Regions from separate parts of the Homo sapiens genome. Here regions 1, 3, 4 and 5 are each linked to region 2. Evidence: promoter capture Hi-C in 16 types of primary human blood cells and fetal thymus (Javierre and others, 2016). All regions are on one chromosome and are shown on one strand. Each heading gives the region's core, a stretch centred on a gene start or on the middle of the fragment in contact. The rest is flanking DNA. Distances are from core to core; before and after follow the strand shown.

Evidence for each region. Contacts are between HindIII fragments. The CHiCAGO score rates a contact against its expected background, and 5 or more counts as called.
Region 1: a fragment that was not itself captured here is called in contact with the fragment with the promoter of FAM180A in region 2 in 1 of 17 cell types (neutrophils); the score reaches 5.1 in neutrophils.
Region 3: a contact is called between a fragment that was not itself captured here and the fragment with the promoter of FAM180A in region 2, in 2 of 17 cell types (activated CD4 T cells and neutrophils). The highest score is 5.7, in activated CD4 T cells.
Region 4: a fragment that was not itself captured here is called in contact with the fragment with the promoter of FAM180A in region 2 in 1 of 17 cell types (total CD8 T cells); the score reaches 5.0 in total CD8 T cells.
Region 5: a fragment that was not itself captured here is called in contact with the fragment with the promoter of FAM180A in region 2 in 1 of 17 cell types (total CD4 T cells); the score reaches 5.9 in total CD4 T cells.

Annotation. Positions count from the first base shown.
Region 1 is chr7:136,038,429-136,041,128 of GRCh38, forward strand. It overlaps a transcript of LOC105375523 not described here. Among named protein-coding and RNA genes, the nearest start is that of MTPN, 62 kb to the left of the region's middle. The HindIII fragment of the contact is 4,729 bases long and covers 1-2,700 here.
Region 2 is chr7:135,747,456-135,750,155 of GRCh38, forward strand. FAM180A (family with sequence similarity 180 member A) reads right to left here and starts at 1,358. Exons shown (of 4, transcript NM_205855.4): 1 at 1,050-1,358. The coding sequence starts at 1,125. The HindIII fragment of the contact is 5,471 bases long and covers 1-2,119 here.
Region 3 is chr7:136,022,455-136,025,154 of GRCh38, forward strand. It overlaps a transcript of LOC105375523 not described here. Among named protein-coding and RNA genes, the nearest start is that of MTPN, 46 kb to the left of the region's middle. The HindIII fragment of the contact is 384 bases long and covers 1,132-1,515 here.
Region 4 is chr7:136,078,648-136,081,347 of GRCh38, forward strand. It overlaps a transcript of LOC105375523 not described here. Among named protein-coding and RNA genes, the nearest start is that of MTPN, 100 kb to the left of the region's middle. The HindIII fragment of the contact is 160 bases long and covers 1,201-1,360 here.
Region 5 is chr7:136,057,379-136,060,078 of GRCh38, forward strand. It overlaps a transcript of LOC105375523 not described here. Among named protein-coding and RNA genes, the nearest start is that of MTPN, 81 kb to the left of the region's middle. RefSeq lists an enhancer at 502-2,700. The HindIII fragment of the contact is 6,518 bases long and covers 1-2,700 here.

The DNA of each region.
Region 1 (2,700 bases), core at 175-2,674, 290 kb after region 2:
CTGAGTAGATTTTCTTTGTCTATCAATTTTCTATCTAGTAATAGAAGCAGAGAGGATGTATGCATATATATATATGTATATATATATATGTGTATATATATATATATATATATATATATATCTCTTCATCTTAAGGAATTGACTCATGTGATTGTGGAGGGCCAGAAAGTCCAAAATCTGCCGGGCAGGCCAGCGGGCTGAAGAACCAGGAACAAGTTGATACTGCTGCTTAAGCCTGAAGGCAGTCTGCTGGCATAATTCCCTCTTTCTTGGGGGAGATCAGTTTTTTTCTCCTTAGGCCTTTGACTGATTGGATGAGGTTCACCCACATTATGGAGGATAATCTACTTTATTCAAAGTCTACTGATGTAAATGTCAACCTCATTTAAAAAATACCTCACAGAAACGTCTAGAATACTGTTGGGCCACATATTTGAGTACCTGAGTTGTTGCCAGTAAAAATGACAATAAAATGAACTATCGCATACCCCAACTTCATTTTGGAGAACTACTCTCCTTAGTCCATGTATATCAGGTGGAGCTGACCTCATTTTTCTGACTCCAAGGGTGAGAATGTGACATAGGCCCATCATAGCATCAAAGTATCCTGGCTAAAGAGATTGCTTCAAGGCTGGCCATATGACCAAACCCAGATCAATGAGAGCCAGTCCTGGGATTTTTGCCAGAACTACCAGGACTGAGCCATTGTATCATTCTTAGAGTTTGAAAGCTAAGGGCCTGGAAGTCTGGAGCTGCAGGAGGTCATCTTTGTTCCCATATGGGGTAAGTCTGCCGGAAAGTTAAGCCAATCCAGGGAAAAGAAAGCAGGAGATGGAGAGATGAGACATGGAGAACAAGAGACAATTTCTTGCGGATATTATATAAATGTTATTGAAAACCTGAATCTAGCTATCTTGATCCATGTTTTTAAAAGCTAAGTAAGCTAATACATTCTTCTTTCTGCTTAAACTAATTTGAGTTTCTATCACTTGCAACTGAAATAATTCTGATGAAGATGCAATATGCTGGATGTTCTAGGTAGTTCCCAGAGGCAGCCGCTTTCAATAACTTTAGCTGATTCTTTTGATGTTTTTCTCCATGTATCTAACAATATGCCATTACTGCTGTTTTGTGATTGATTTCAGTCAGTAGTTGCTGACTTCCTGTTATGGTGAGTGAGGATTCCTTCCTCCTTCTCCATTTTATAATTTTTTCTAAATGCTTCAACATATCTGTCAGCCACTCAGAAAAAAATGATGTAAACATTCAAAATCATCAGTTGCACTCTCTGCCACCCCTACACCCTTGTGCCATAGTAACCATTTGCTGCTCTGAGCTGGCCCTGCTGCCCTCCGGACTTGGTGCACAGCCGTTGTTCAGGGGTCACTTCCTTTCACTGATGACTTGCGTAGGAAAACATAGGAATGATGACCTGTGTGTTTTGGATTCCCAGTCTTCCTCTCTTGATTTTTCTCCCTCAATTTATTAAAGCATGTACTCCAGGAGTGTCCTTAGAAAGCACTCATGGGAAGTAATGTTTTTTAGTCCTTGCTTCCTCATGTGTGTTATTATTAGACTTCTACACAAGCACACCCTGTTTGTCTAGTGGAAGCATTCTAGGTTGAAAATAACTGTCTAGCAGAATTTTACAAGCATTGCTCCACTTTCTTCTATACCCAGTGTTGCTTTTGAGAAAAGTCAGATGCTACTCTGACAAATGCAATTATGACGTTCTCTTCATACCTATTATTCCCTAACTCCATGATTATGCAATTTGGAGGTTTAACAAAAAATGATTGTGGCAGGTGTTTGCTGGGCCTTTTAAGTATTGAGATCACGCCCTTAAATTTGCAAAATTGCTTCTAGTATCTATTATAATTTCTACTCATCTAGTTCTTTGTTCCTTTTTAGAACTCCAGCAGTCAGCTGTTGGTCCCCTGTATTTTCTCTCCCGTTTCCTAACTCTTTGCCTTTTGATTCTACTTTTTGGGAGATTTCTTTGACATTATTCTCCATTCCTTTTATTAAGTATTTCATCCTAGTTGTCATGGTTTTAAGTTCTAAGAGCTTCTGCTTGTTGTATGATTTTAAAAATATCAATTTTTATTTTACAAATGCATTATCTAAGCTCTCTGATATTAATTGCAATTTTTTTTGGTTTGTTTTGAGTGTTACCTAATTGTTTACCTTTCTTCTAAGATCCTTTTCTTTTTTGGCTATTGCTTTTGAATTCACCTTTTCATGTTGAAGTCTTTCTTTTCAAGCATTTATGATCTTGAGTTGTCTGTTCATATATGAGTGAAGCTCTAGATTGAAAGCTGATTGGAACATCTGTGTGTGTGTGGGGGGGCGGTGGGGTGGGGGTGAGTGGGGAGGTTGTTGATGGTGGGCTTTACTACAAAGCAGACCATCTGGCCTCTTCATCAAGAGACTCCCTCTCCCCCCACCAAATGTAAATATGCCAGTTGTCTTTCTGGGGTGCTAGGGTGGTTTGATTTTTCTTTTTCTCTTTTTTTCTTTTCTTTTTTTTTTTTTTTTTTTGAGATGGAGTCTTGCTCTGTTGCCCAGGCCAGAATGCAGTGGCACGATCTTGGCTCACTGCAACCTCTGCCTCTGGGGTTCAAGTGATTCTCCTGTCTCAGCCTCCTGAGTAGCTGGGATTACAGGCGTGCCCCACCACGCCTGGCTAATTTTTGTATT
Region 2 (2,700 bases), core at 108-2,607:
CTAATGTCACGTTTAACCATGAGGAAATAAAACCCAGCATAAGTACAGTAGCTTTTGCCTCCCTCCCATTTCAGATCCTTCTCTCGCGCTGCTCTATCCCCACTCCGGCCACTCCTTCCTTCCCTGACACTGTCCTTGAGAAGCAAGCAGGAGGCGCATCCATGCCACCATGCCAGTTGCCTTCCAATTTTGCATCTCTAGAAACACCTACTGGCCTGACTTGAAGGAGCCTGTTCTTCTTGCGGTTCTTTCTAGGAGAGTGAACTCAGTTGACTTTAGGCAGTGGAAAGATTTCCGTTCATATTGGTGAAGAGTGGGCAGTGCCGTGGGTCCCTCCTTTCCTAACAGTGATAAACTCTGGCTCGAGGTGCTCCCAGTGTCTACCAAGCAGAGCCACTCCCAGGGAAATGGAGAAAAGATGCCATCCAGCTAGGAGGAACTACATCCTGAGGGGGAGGAAGTCAGTGATAAGAGAACAGCCTTTGCTGGGGCCCCTTCCTTTGTGAGGAGGTGGCGGAGCTGGTGGGTGCAGTGGAGGTTGAAGGGTTGCTCTCCTCACCTGCCCACCTCTGGCTGCAGAGATGCATCCCCTCCCGGTGAGGAGGCAACGTTCTGCAGAGCTTCTGCTCTGGTTCCCCCAGGGAGCAGGCCTTTGGCATCCCAGTGCCCATCACTCCATCATTTTAGCAGCAGGTCTCAGCACCTGCTCTCCAGACGGTCTGGCCCAACTGCTGCAGGTGGTGGGGGCAGTCGAAGAAATGAGTTCTACTTTCTATGAAGCAGAAATGAGTTCTCTCTGGGATGCCAGAAAGGGGTACTCTCTGGGTTCTCCACCTCAACCTAATTCCCTCAGGAGCTTTGATTTTTTCCAGTGTCATTTCCCCATCACCCTCTAAGAAGGGGGAACACGTCAAGAAGCATCAAGGAATTGACAGAGATTAGACAAAAGGAGAGTGCGGGGCTTCTAATGTCCTTCCCTCCAAATTTTGAATTGCATTGAAGAAAGTATAATGAGCATCAAACAAACAAATGAATAAAAAGCAACTCACCCCTGCTCCACCTGTGGCACATAGAAGCCTCAGCATTGTAATACAACAGCAGAAGCAGCAACATCTTCCAATGCATCTTGTCCTTCAAAAGGTGAAAAATCGACCCTCAAGCCCAGTGGAACCCCAGTAGCTGCAGGTATGCCCGTGCCGTTCTTCCCAGTGAGATGATGGAGTGCTTCCCTCCCTTCCTTTTGCAGACGTGCAGAAATGCCTACTCTGCCTCAGAAGGCTGGAGGCTGAAGGCTGCGTCCTGGGTGGGACAGGAGTCGGTACCTCTCTTCATTTGACGCTCTCTGGGATTGGGGAACTGGCCTTCCACAGAGAGACTCTGTTTTTGAGCACATCTGGAGTGACTCACGGGGCATGTGATCTCCTTGGCAGTGGGGCGGATAAATATAATTTCTGTACTTGAGTTCCATGTGTTGGATGCACCCACTGGAATTTTTCTTTAACAAACAGACCCGCGGAACTTGTTAGAGAGCCCGGCGAAGAGTTGGCTGCTCTCCCCGTCCACACATACGATACCAGAGCCAGGGGCGAGGGCTGGAGGCAGAGTTGGGAGCCTGCCTGGCAGACACCAGGGCTGGTTGAGCCTAAGTTGCCTTCAGGACAGCAAAATCATTGTGGTGCCTGGGCTGAGTGTCACTGTTGCCTGGCCCTGGAGCTAGACTAGGACATTGGCGCCTAGAGCCTGTGTCTGGTCTGCCCAGGTTCTGGGTGGGTGGGGAGTTGGCAGGTTGTGACCGAGCCGAAGTGGAGAGGTGACATGGTGCATCGGTATTGTCTGTGTGAACGTGCGTAGGTAATGATCCAGGAGCCCACGGGGACCCCCAACTCACATTGGTGATGCTCCCATTTCTGGGCTGTGCCTAGACCTGGGGCCAAGCCCCACAACTCACATTGGTGATGCTCCCATTTCTGGGCTGTGCCTAGACCTGGGGCCAAGCCACTTTGATTTTCCCAAGCAAAATGGGAGTGTTTTTCCATAGTCGTTGTAATATACTGCCATAGACACCTTAATTCTTTCCCAATCACTTCCTCAACTTCTCTGAAATGATAGGGAATGCTAAAGCTTGAAGGACACTTAAAGATTATGTCATCCTGTGGGTTTTCCAGTTTGTGGAGGTGGTGCCCAGGGTGAATGGGCTCCCCAAGAGGGCTCCTCAAAGCTCTACTCTACTGCAAAAGCTCCTCTTTTATCTGCTATAAGAAGTTGTTTGGGAGCCGGGCATGGTGGTTCACGCCTGTAATCCCAACACTTTGGGAGGCCGAAGTGGGGGAATTGCTTGAGGCCAGAAGTTCAAGACCAACCTAGAGAAAATAGACCCTGTCTCTACAAAAAATTAAAAAATTAGCTGGGCGTGGTGGCATGTGCCTGTAGTCCTAGTCACTCAGGTGGCTGAGGCAGAAGGATTGTTTAGGCCCAGGAGTTCAAGGCTGCAGTGAGCTATGATCACAACACTCTACTCCAGCCTGGGTGACAGAGTAAGAACTTTCCTCTTAAAAAAATTAAAAAAAAAACAACCAGTTTTTTTGGGGGAAAAAATACTAGACTACAACATTTGAAAACCAGTACGCTCACTAATATTAATAATAGCTATTAGGTGCTTAATTTGCTTCAGACAGCGTGCTAGGTGCCCTCCTTGCATTA
Region 3 (2,700 bases), core at 74-2,573, 270 kb after region 2:
AAAAAATCTAGCTTGCTTTTCAAATACAGCCTTAATGCAAGTCTCCATTCCATCCAGATGGCCTCTAAGCCCTTCTTATTTAGAAATTTTGAAGCTGTCACTTTCTGCTCTATTTTAAAAGTAGAAAAATGTTGAGCTCTCTTTATATTTATTTGCATAGAGTTTATCTGCTCCAGACAACTCCATGGAATGTGCTTCCTCCCTGACAGTTTGTTTCCCACTGTTTCCTCACAGCCTAGCATGTAAAATAGGTGCTCACTAAATTACAATGAATGAATATATAACAGAATATAAATAAGGAGCACATGTAAATAAGAAAGCGATATGTATTGGAGAAGTAACATTTATTGGCTGCCTCTTTGCATACTTGTAGTAACTTATTTGAGCCTTTGAACAATGCTGTGAAATAGATGTGATTGTCCTATTTGGTAAATGAGTGAATGGAGACTTGAAGAATTTATAAAACGTGTTTCTGTTCTTACATCTGGTAAGTGTGATAAATGTGGGTCAAATTTGACCAATGCCAAAATCCACAATCCTCTAACTGCTGAGTTCTCCTTGAACAGCAGGGATGATGACATAAGGAGGGGGCAGAGCTAGACTCCATTCTAAGGAGGCTCCAAGGGGGAACTCAAAAGTCAACTGGGATTCTGGGGAAAAATAGAACTGAATTTTCCATTCATTGTTAAATAAAAAATTAGGGTCTGTTTGAAGTGATTTCAATGTTCCCAGTGAGTTAGTAACACAGATAAACATACTTAGCAGGACCTGGGCTGTGGTAGGGACTCAATAAATGTTTATAGCACAAATGAATGAAAAAAAATGAATGAAAGAACAGGGTAAGTCAACTAGAGGGCAGCTGGTTTCAACATAGAAGCCATGCCGATTACCATGACTAGCACCAGGGAAATGGAAAAAGTTAACAGGGAGATGAGCATAAAGATGGTGAATTGGAGCAGTCTCTGGGTCTATAAGTAAATGAGAAACCAGGCAAACACATTGAAAACTCACATATAAAGGTTTTTGTGTCTTTTATTGAGTTCTGTAAGCAATCATAATGGGTTTCTTCTTGAGTTCTTTAAATGATCTATTAAAAAAAAAACCCAGCCACAGCATTTGGAAAGTCAACAAAGCTTTACAGGATGGGCTCTCCAGAATCAGGAAAGTAAATACTATGAGCCTCTTGGTACCCTGGGTGAGTTACCACACTCAGGTTGCAAATTATTCCTCCAGCTGTAATTACAACATTAATTGTGAGCTTTATTTATTTAGTGTTACTCATGAGGCAAGAGGTTTGCTATTCTGCATGGTTGGTGAAGGGGCAATTCTGGACCACAGTGGGGAGTGGCTGGTGGTGTCTGGGTCTGGGATGCCGTCTTCTATCTGCCTTCAGCTGTGGCCAGTGTTGGGGAGGCAAATTTCTACTTCCTTCCTCTTAGGGTCTGGCTGGGCCCAAGAATTAAGTTGACATAAGCTAGATTAATAGACGAAAAGTACACACATTTATTTTATACAAGCTTTATGTGGCACAGGAGACCTCATAAGGAAATGAAGACCCAAAGGAGCAGTTAGAGCCCATCGCTTACATACTGAATTGGACAAAGAAAAGCAAGTTGTGAAAATGTGATAAGTAAAGGGGCTTGGGCTAGGTTAGCTAATTGGGTAGAGACGTGACCAGGAAAATAAGAGTTAGTTTAACAAGGTTTGCTTGTATAAACTTCCCTAGGCTTCAACTTTCTATTCTTGATAAGATTGTTGCTTTCTTTCTGGTATAGGGAGGACCTCCTTCATGTGGGAATTTTGTCTCTTGCTTTTAAGAAACAGAATGGAGATTAGAGTGATCTTTTTGTACTTACTATTTTTTTAAGTGCCTTTATTTCAAAATAGTCAATATGCTAGAGCAGCGTATTTTGGGGTGTCATAGTCTTAACTCCTTCACTAGAATAAGGCCTTGCTCACTAAATGATGATGTGTTAGGATGAGGAAGCATCACTGTTACCTGACAAATAAGAAGAAATAAGCTCATGGAGAATACTAATGTTCCTAAGGAAAGCTACAGTGCTTGGAGTTGTCTTCTAACACTTTCTGAGGCTACACCTTGGGGTCCCAAACACCACTTCTTGGTACCATTCCTAGAGGCAGAATCCTAAATTGAAAGGACCACTGACCTTAAGTGATAAGACACTTTTTATATCATTTTGCTCTGTCCCCTTCCCTGTGAAAGCAATGGAGAGGGTAGTGCTGTCCTGTAACAGCTCAGGCAGTGGCTCAACAGTGGTCTGCTTTGGTCAATTGGTTTAGGAGAAGCCAGTGTCACTTCAGACCTGAGGGAAGGAACTGGGCTCCTCATGAACCCTAACTGCAAGTTGTTTTCCCACTTATTACTATTATTAGAAATGCTTCCATGAATTTAAAGATGGATGTGAAAACAAAGTACATGTGAATAGCGATTTACCCAAGTTGTACCAGGAATGATATTGACATGTACAGTAGTTACTGTGGTAGCCTTGTCCACATTTCTTGGAAAAACAGCCCTAGCTCAGTTAATTGAATAACAGCAAAGCATATTCATTTATGTTACTAATGTTATAGTTTATCTTATTAATTAATCTTAATGACTGTCTATTACACAATTAATTAAGACTCATTTGTATATACTGATTAAACAAACACACGGGACTTGGCATCAGATAGGATGGG
Region 4 (2,700 bases), core at 31-2,530, 330 kb after region 2:
AAGTTAGCTTATTTGCTTATTTAAGTATATGTTTTACAGCTGGAATATACTAAAAGGTTATGTTATCTCATGGAGGTCTTACTAAGATGTTTTATGGCTCAGATGAACATTTGGCTATCTTGTTTTAAATTTTTTCTAAGCTAAAATTCGTATGGCTATTAAACTATGGCAGAAACATTTGGTGTCATGGTTGTCTAACGGCCTTTATGTTAACATGAACAGCTAATCTTTTTCTGAGAAAGAACTTGGCTCTGGCTGGGGGTTATCCCTTGGCCTGTCTCTGCAGGGAGGCGACAAAACTTATTTTCAGGCATATGTCATTTTTCAGTCTCTTCGTTCTAATTTCTTACCCAGTTTAGATGAGCCAAATCATACAGCTGTGCACTTCACAGGAACATAGAATACCTGCTTTCCAAATGCTTTTAGGGAATATAAACCCAGTTTGTGGCTTTATCATAACAATCAAATCTATATTTATGAAGGATTGTTTAAAAATTTGCAGTTTATGGGTTCCTTTAGATATTATGAAGTCTGTATCTTGACCGCTGAAAGCTATAGTCTTATATCACATTGTTTTGACTTCTATAGACTTGCTTTTGGTAAATTATATTTTAACTTTATCCTTTGTTTACCTTGAAGAATATTATGCAAAAGAATTCTGTGAATCCTGCCAATAATAATGATAATAATAATGCTGTTGATAATTTATGTATTCATTATTCAATAAATATGTATTGAACAATTTCTACATGCAAGATTATCTTCTAAGCCCTGGAATACCAATGAATGAGATAGGCAAAAATCTCTGTGTTTATTCTATTTATATTTAAGTTAGTGGGGAGAAGACAGATTACAAAAAGGGAAAGAAAATGAGAGTTGATGATAAGTGCTACAGGAAAAAATAAAGCAAGGGAGGGAGTTGGGGTGTTGCAATTTTAAATAGGCTGGCCAGTGAAGGTGTCCTGATGATACCTAGTATGACACACATGCTTTTGCTTAGTATTTTACATGAGGGAGTTCATTATGTAATCCCGTGAAGTGTTCATTATATTACAAGCTGTCCTCTTTATGAGGACTCATGGGAGAACTTGCACTTCGATGTTAGAACTAGCAGTAGTCGGGCTTCTCTTGAGTGACTGGTTTCTTTTTATCTTCTGGGCACCAAGAATCATGTAACAGATCACGGTTGCCTCTTTGTTAAGCTTATAAGGAAACTTAACACTTTGGCATGAACTGGGAGTACTGACCTTACTCTTGGCTTTACCTTACCTTTTCAATCTCATTTTAGCCTTTGTCCCAATTGACTCACCTACTTACTTGACATTTTATTTTATGCTATGTTGTTATATTTACTTTGGTAAGCTTCCTTAAATATTTTTTGAACAAAGTAAGGCATGAATAGATATAAACGCCCACATAATTACATGCACACACAATACACACACACATACATACATACATCATTATGTGACAATATAGTACATCTTATTTCAGTGTACCTTGAACCTGGAGTTCTTATCTGAAAAAGTTTTTTTATGCTTCATGGTGTTCCTTTATAAGTGCTCCATAAATATTTATGGAATAACAGTTTTAGTAGTGGTTATAATTTAAATGAGAAAGATACTCATGGTATCTTAAGAGTTTTTCCATTTGAATATCAAACGAACTATTGCTGAAGTTTAATTTTTAAAATCATTATATGTAAAATATAAGCTCTTTAATATAAAGATGTGGGGAAATTTGAAATGTAATATGTAATTATGACTCTTCTAAACCTCTTTCTAAAAGTTTTCAATAACTAAGTTTTAATAATTCTGGATAACAGAATCCTTTGAAACCTATCACCCTCCAGGGAAATTTGGTTACACATAAAAATTGCATAATTGTATTAAAGAAGTTAGCGACACACCAAAGCCCATCCATCAACCAACCTTAGGTTATGAACCCCTGCTGTATGTTTTTCTTTTAAAATAATATATGCTCTTAAAATTTTAATAACAAAAAGAAAAAAAGCAGAAAAATTACCTATAACCCCAGCACCATGGGATAGCTATTTTTAATCTTTTTATTTTCATTTAAAAAATTTGCTGCATTTACATCAAAAGATTTTGCATCCTTTTTTTTTGGCAAAACAATATATAGTAAGTAGTTCCCAATGAAATAAAAAATTCTTTATAAACATCATTTTTAAAGATTTATATAATATTTCAGTGTATAAATATACTGTAATGTGCTTAAACATTTTCTAATGTCTGTTTAGGTCTTCCCTTGCCCTTCCATTATTTGCCACAAAGTTGCTATGAACATCTTAGAGACAAATCTTTGTTGATATGTTAAGAAATTCCCAGGAATACCTAGAAGAATTACTAGGTGCAAATGTATATTCTAACTAAAGTCAATGATATGCAAATTATTTTTCAGAAAGAGTGTTCCAACCAATTGTGCTGGTACCAGCAGTTTGTGAAAGTATTTAAACTATCTATTTTACCTCATTCTTGCCAGAATTGAGTAGTACCATTAAAAACAGAAATAATCAAAGAAGCAAAAACTTATTTGATAGGTAAAAAATGGGGCCATTTTGATTTTAATCTGCATTTCTTTGATTACTAATGAGGTTTACTTCTAAAACTATGTTTTCAAGAAAAACTTAAAAAATTTGCCTTTTCTCTTTAGCGAGTGATCATATGTTTGGTTCATTAA
Region 5 (2,700 bases), core at 190-2,689, 310 kb after region 2:
CAGGTGCCTGCCGCCATGCCTGGCTAATTTTTTTTTTTTTTGTATTTTTAGTAGAGACAGGGTTTCACCATGTTGGCCAGGCTGATCTTGAGCTCCTGATCTCAAGTGATCTGCCTGCCTTGACCTCCCAAAGTGCTAGGATTACAGGCATGAGCCACCGTGCCCAGCCAGATGTGTTCATAATTTTAATAAAACATGTTGTGCGCTATTCTTAACAACTTAACTTTACCTAACAACTTTACCTACGTTAACTAATTTGATTTTCAAACGTCCTTTTGTGGCTGCTACCATTAACTTCCCATTTTACAGAGGAAGAGACTGAGACACAGAGAGATGAAGTAATCCAAGATCACGTAATTGGGAAATGGCAGAGCGTGGATTTGGACCCAGGTTGTCTAGTTCCATGGTCATGCTCTTGACCACTGCACTATTCTATTGTTCATGAATGTTATTTCTTTTAGGAATGATATATGCTACTTGTTATGCCTGTACCTTCATTTAAAAGCTGTTTGTGGTGCTAGGATAGGGAAACCATTGTCCCAGTTTGCCTGCAACTGAGGGGTTGCCTGGAATGCAAGACTTTTAGTGCCCTAGTTGGGACAGTCCCAGGCAAACTAGTATTGTTTGGTGACCTTATGCTAGGAGTATGATTGTGATGAGAATAACAACAAGGCCACCCTGAGAGAATTTATAGTCTGGTGCCAAATAAAATTATAAATTTAAACATGAATCTGAAATAAAAGACGTGGTCTATGAGGGCAGGTAACAGAGGGGCCATGGGTCAGGTGGGGAATGCCTCCTATTGTAACAGAAGCAGAAGGATTCATCGTGTTTATTATGTCTATCTCCTGATCCAAGAGGTGACAGGACAGGTATGAGTTAATTTTTCCCTTTGGAGTGATTTATATTCTTACCACATCTTAAAACCAGAGAAGAGTAACCAATAATCAAAACTTATACCACTAATGCCTCATTTATCTCAAAGATGCATTTATATTACTGTTTAAGCCGATGTGTTGCACTTTTAAATAATTATGCACAGTGCATGTGTATTTTTTAATCCTGCTTTGGTTTTTATAATTTACAGCTGCAGAGAACTCCAGGAGCTGTTTTTAAAGAAGATTAAGGTACTGCATCAAGAAGCCTCCATTTCTAATCAGCAAAATCCATTGCAGCCATAGAATTAAAATTAAATATCATTACATGTTTCCCAAGAAGTTTAGGAGAATCTACAGGTTAAAAAAAAAACAGAAAGATTAAATGCAGCAGGAATGTGGTATGTGAGTAAGAATTCCAAGGGAGAATCTCTTGTGGATTTCTCTGATTGGAAACAGACCTGGGGACCTCTAAGGGAAGGATGGAAGCTCTGTCAAAAGGCAGCCCTCTTTCAGCTCCTATTCATTTTCAAGACAGCATTGGTTAATCATGTGTAACTGAGAGAAAATGGAACTGGTAGGCACTTTAATTGCAGGTCAAGTGAGGTGAACAATAAACAAAAAAATCAACTTGGGCTCATATTTTAGATTAGTGGCTAGATTAGAAGGAAAAGTCTTAGCTTCAAGGAATTAATAGAGAAACAAGAGGTCTTTTCAGCTGGTTTGGAGAAGATCTTTTAACACAAACCAAAGAAGCAGCTCTGTGTTAAAGATCTAGCCCATCCTTTCAACAGGAGAGGGTTCTGGTGCAGGAGTAGTGAAGGGTAGTAGGTAGGAGGCCAGATCTGGCCTGTCTTGGTGTGAGCCTCTGTGTTGACACTACCCAGCCAGGTAACAACTGTCCTTAATGCCAGGTGTTGCTGGATGATTAAATGGTAGATGGAAAATGCCATATAAGGGATACAAAGGGCCTGCCCAGCAAGTCTGTGGGGAGACTGACCAGTTATCAAGGTGGGACTTTACAAGACACACAGTCTGCAGAACAAGGAAGACACGCAAGTGGCCCTGGTGAAGTCGGGTGTGGGGAGCCATAATGAAGACTTACTAATGGGGCATGTCCACAGTGATAAGAGCAGTAGCTTATGATTCTATGCTTTTGTTTCATCCATATCTTTAATGAGTGGCTTTAGGGGTACTGGAAAGTGCTTGTTGAAGGCAGCCTCATAGAAAATAGATAGTCTAGGCAATTCAACGAATCGGTAAGGCAATTTTGATGAATCAATAGGAGTGAATTTGGCAACTTTTTATGCATGGTTTTGCATTTTCTGTTTTTCCACATTTTACAGCTTTACTCAATTTCTTTCTTGTCTGACCTGTTATAATGGAATATTTTAAACTGTTTGTTATATTTATATGATGGAACACAGTGGGGATCATTAAAAGGGATGTTTTGTGATACATATTACACAAACCAATAGATCCATCCATTCATTCATTCATTCATTCATCTACAATCATTTGTTGAGGGTCTACTATGTGCTCGACACTATTGAGACATGAGACACAGCAGCGAACAAGGCCTCAATAAACAAGAAGGAAAGAGGACAATATGATAGAGTTTTAAGTAGGGGGTTGAGGGAAGCATTATTTTAGATTGGGTGATCAGGAAAGGTATCTCTGAGAAAGTGATGTTTGAGCAAAGGCCTACAGGATGAGAAGGACCCAGGCATGCAAAGAGCTGGGGGGATGTATTTCTTTGCGGAAGTAGCAAATAAGTGCCAAGGTCCGAGGGAGGAAAACTGGCAAGACAGATGAACAGAAAGCA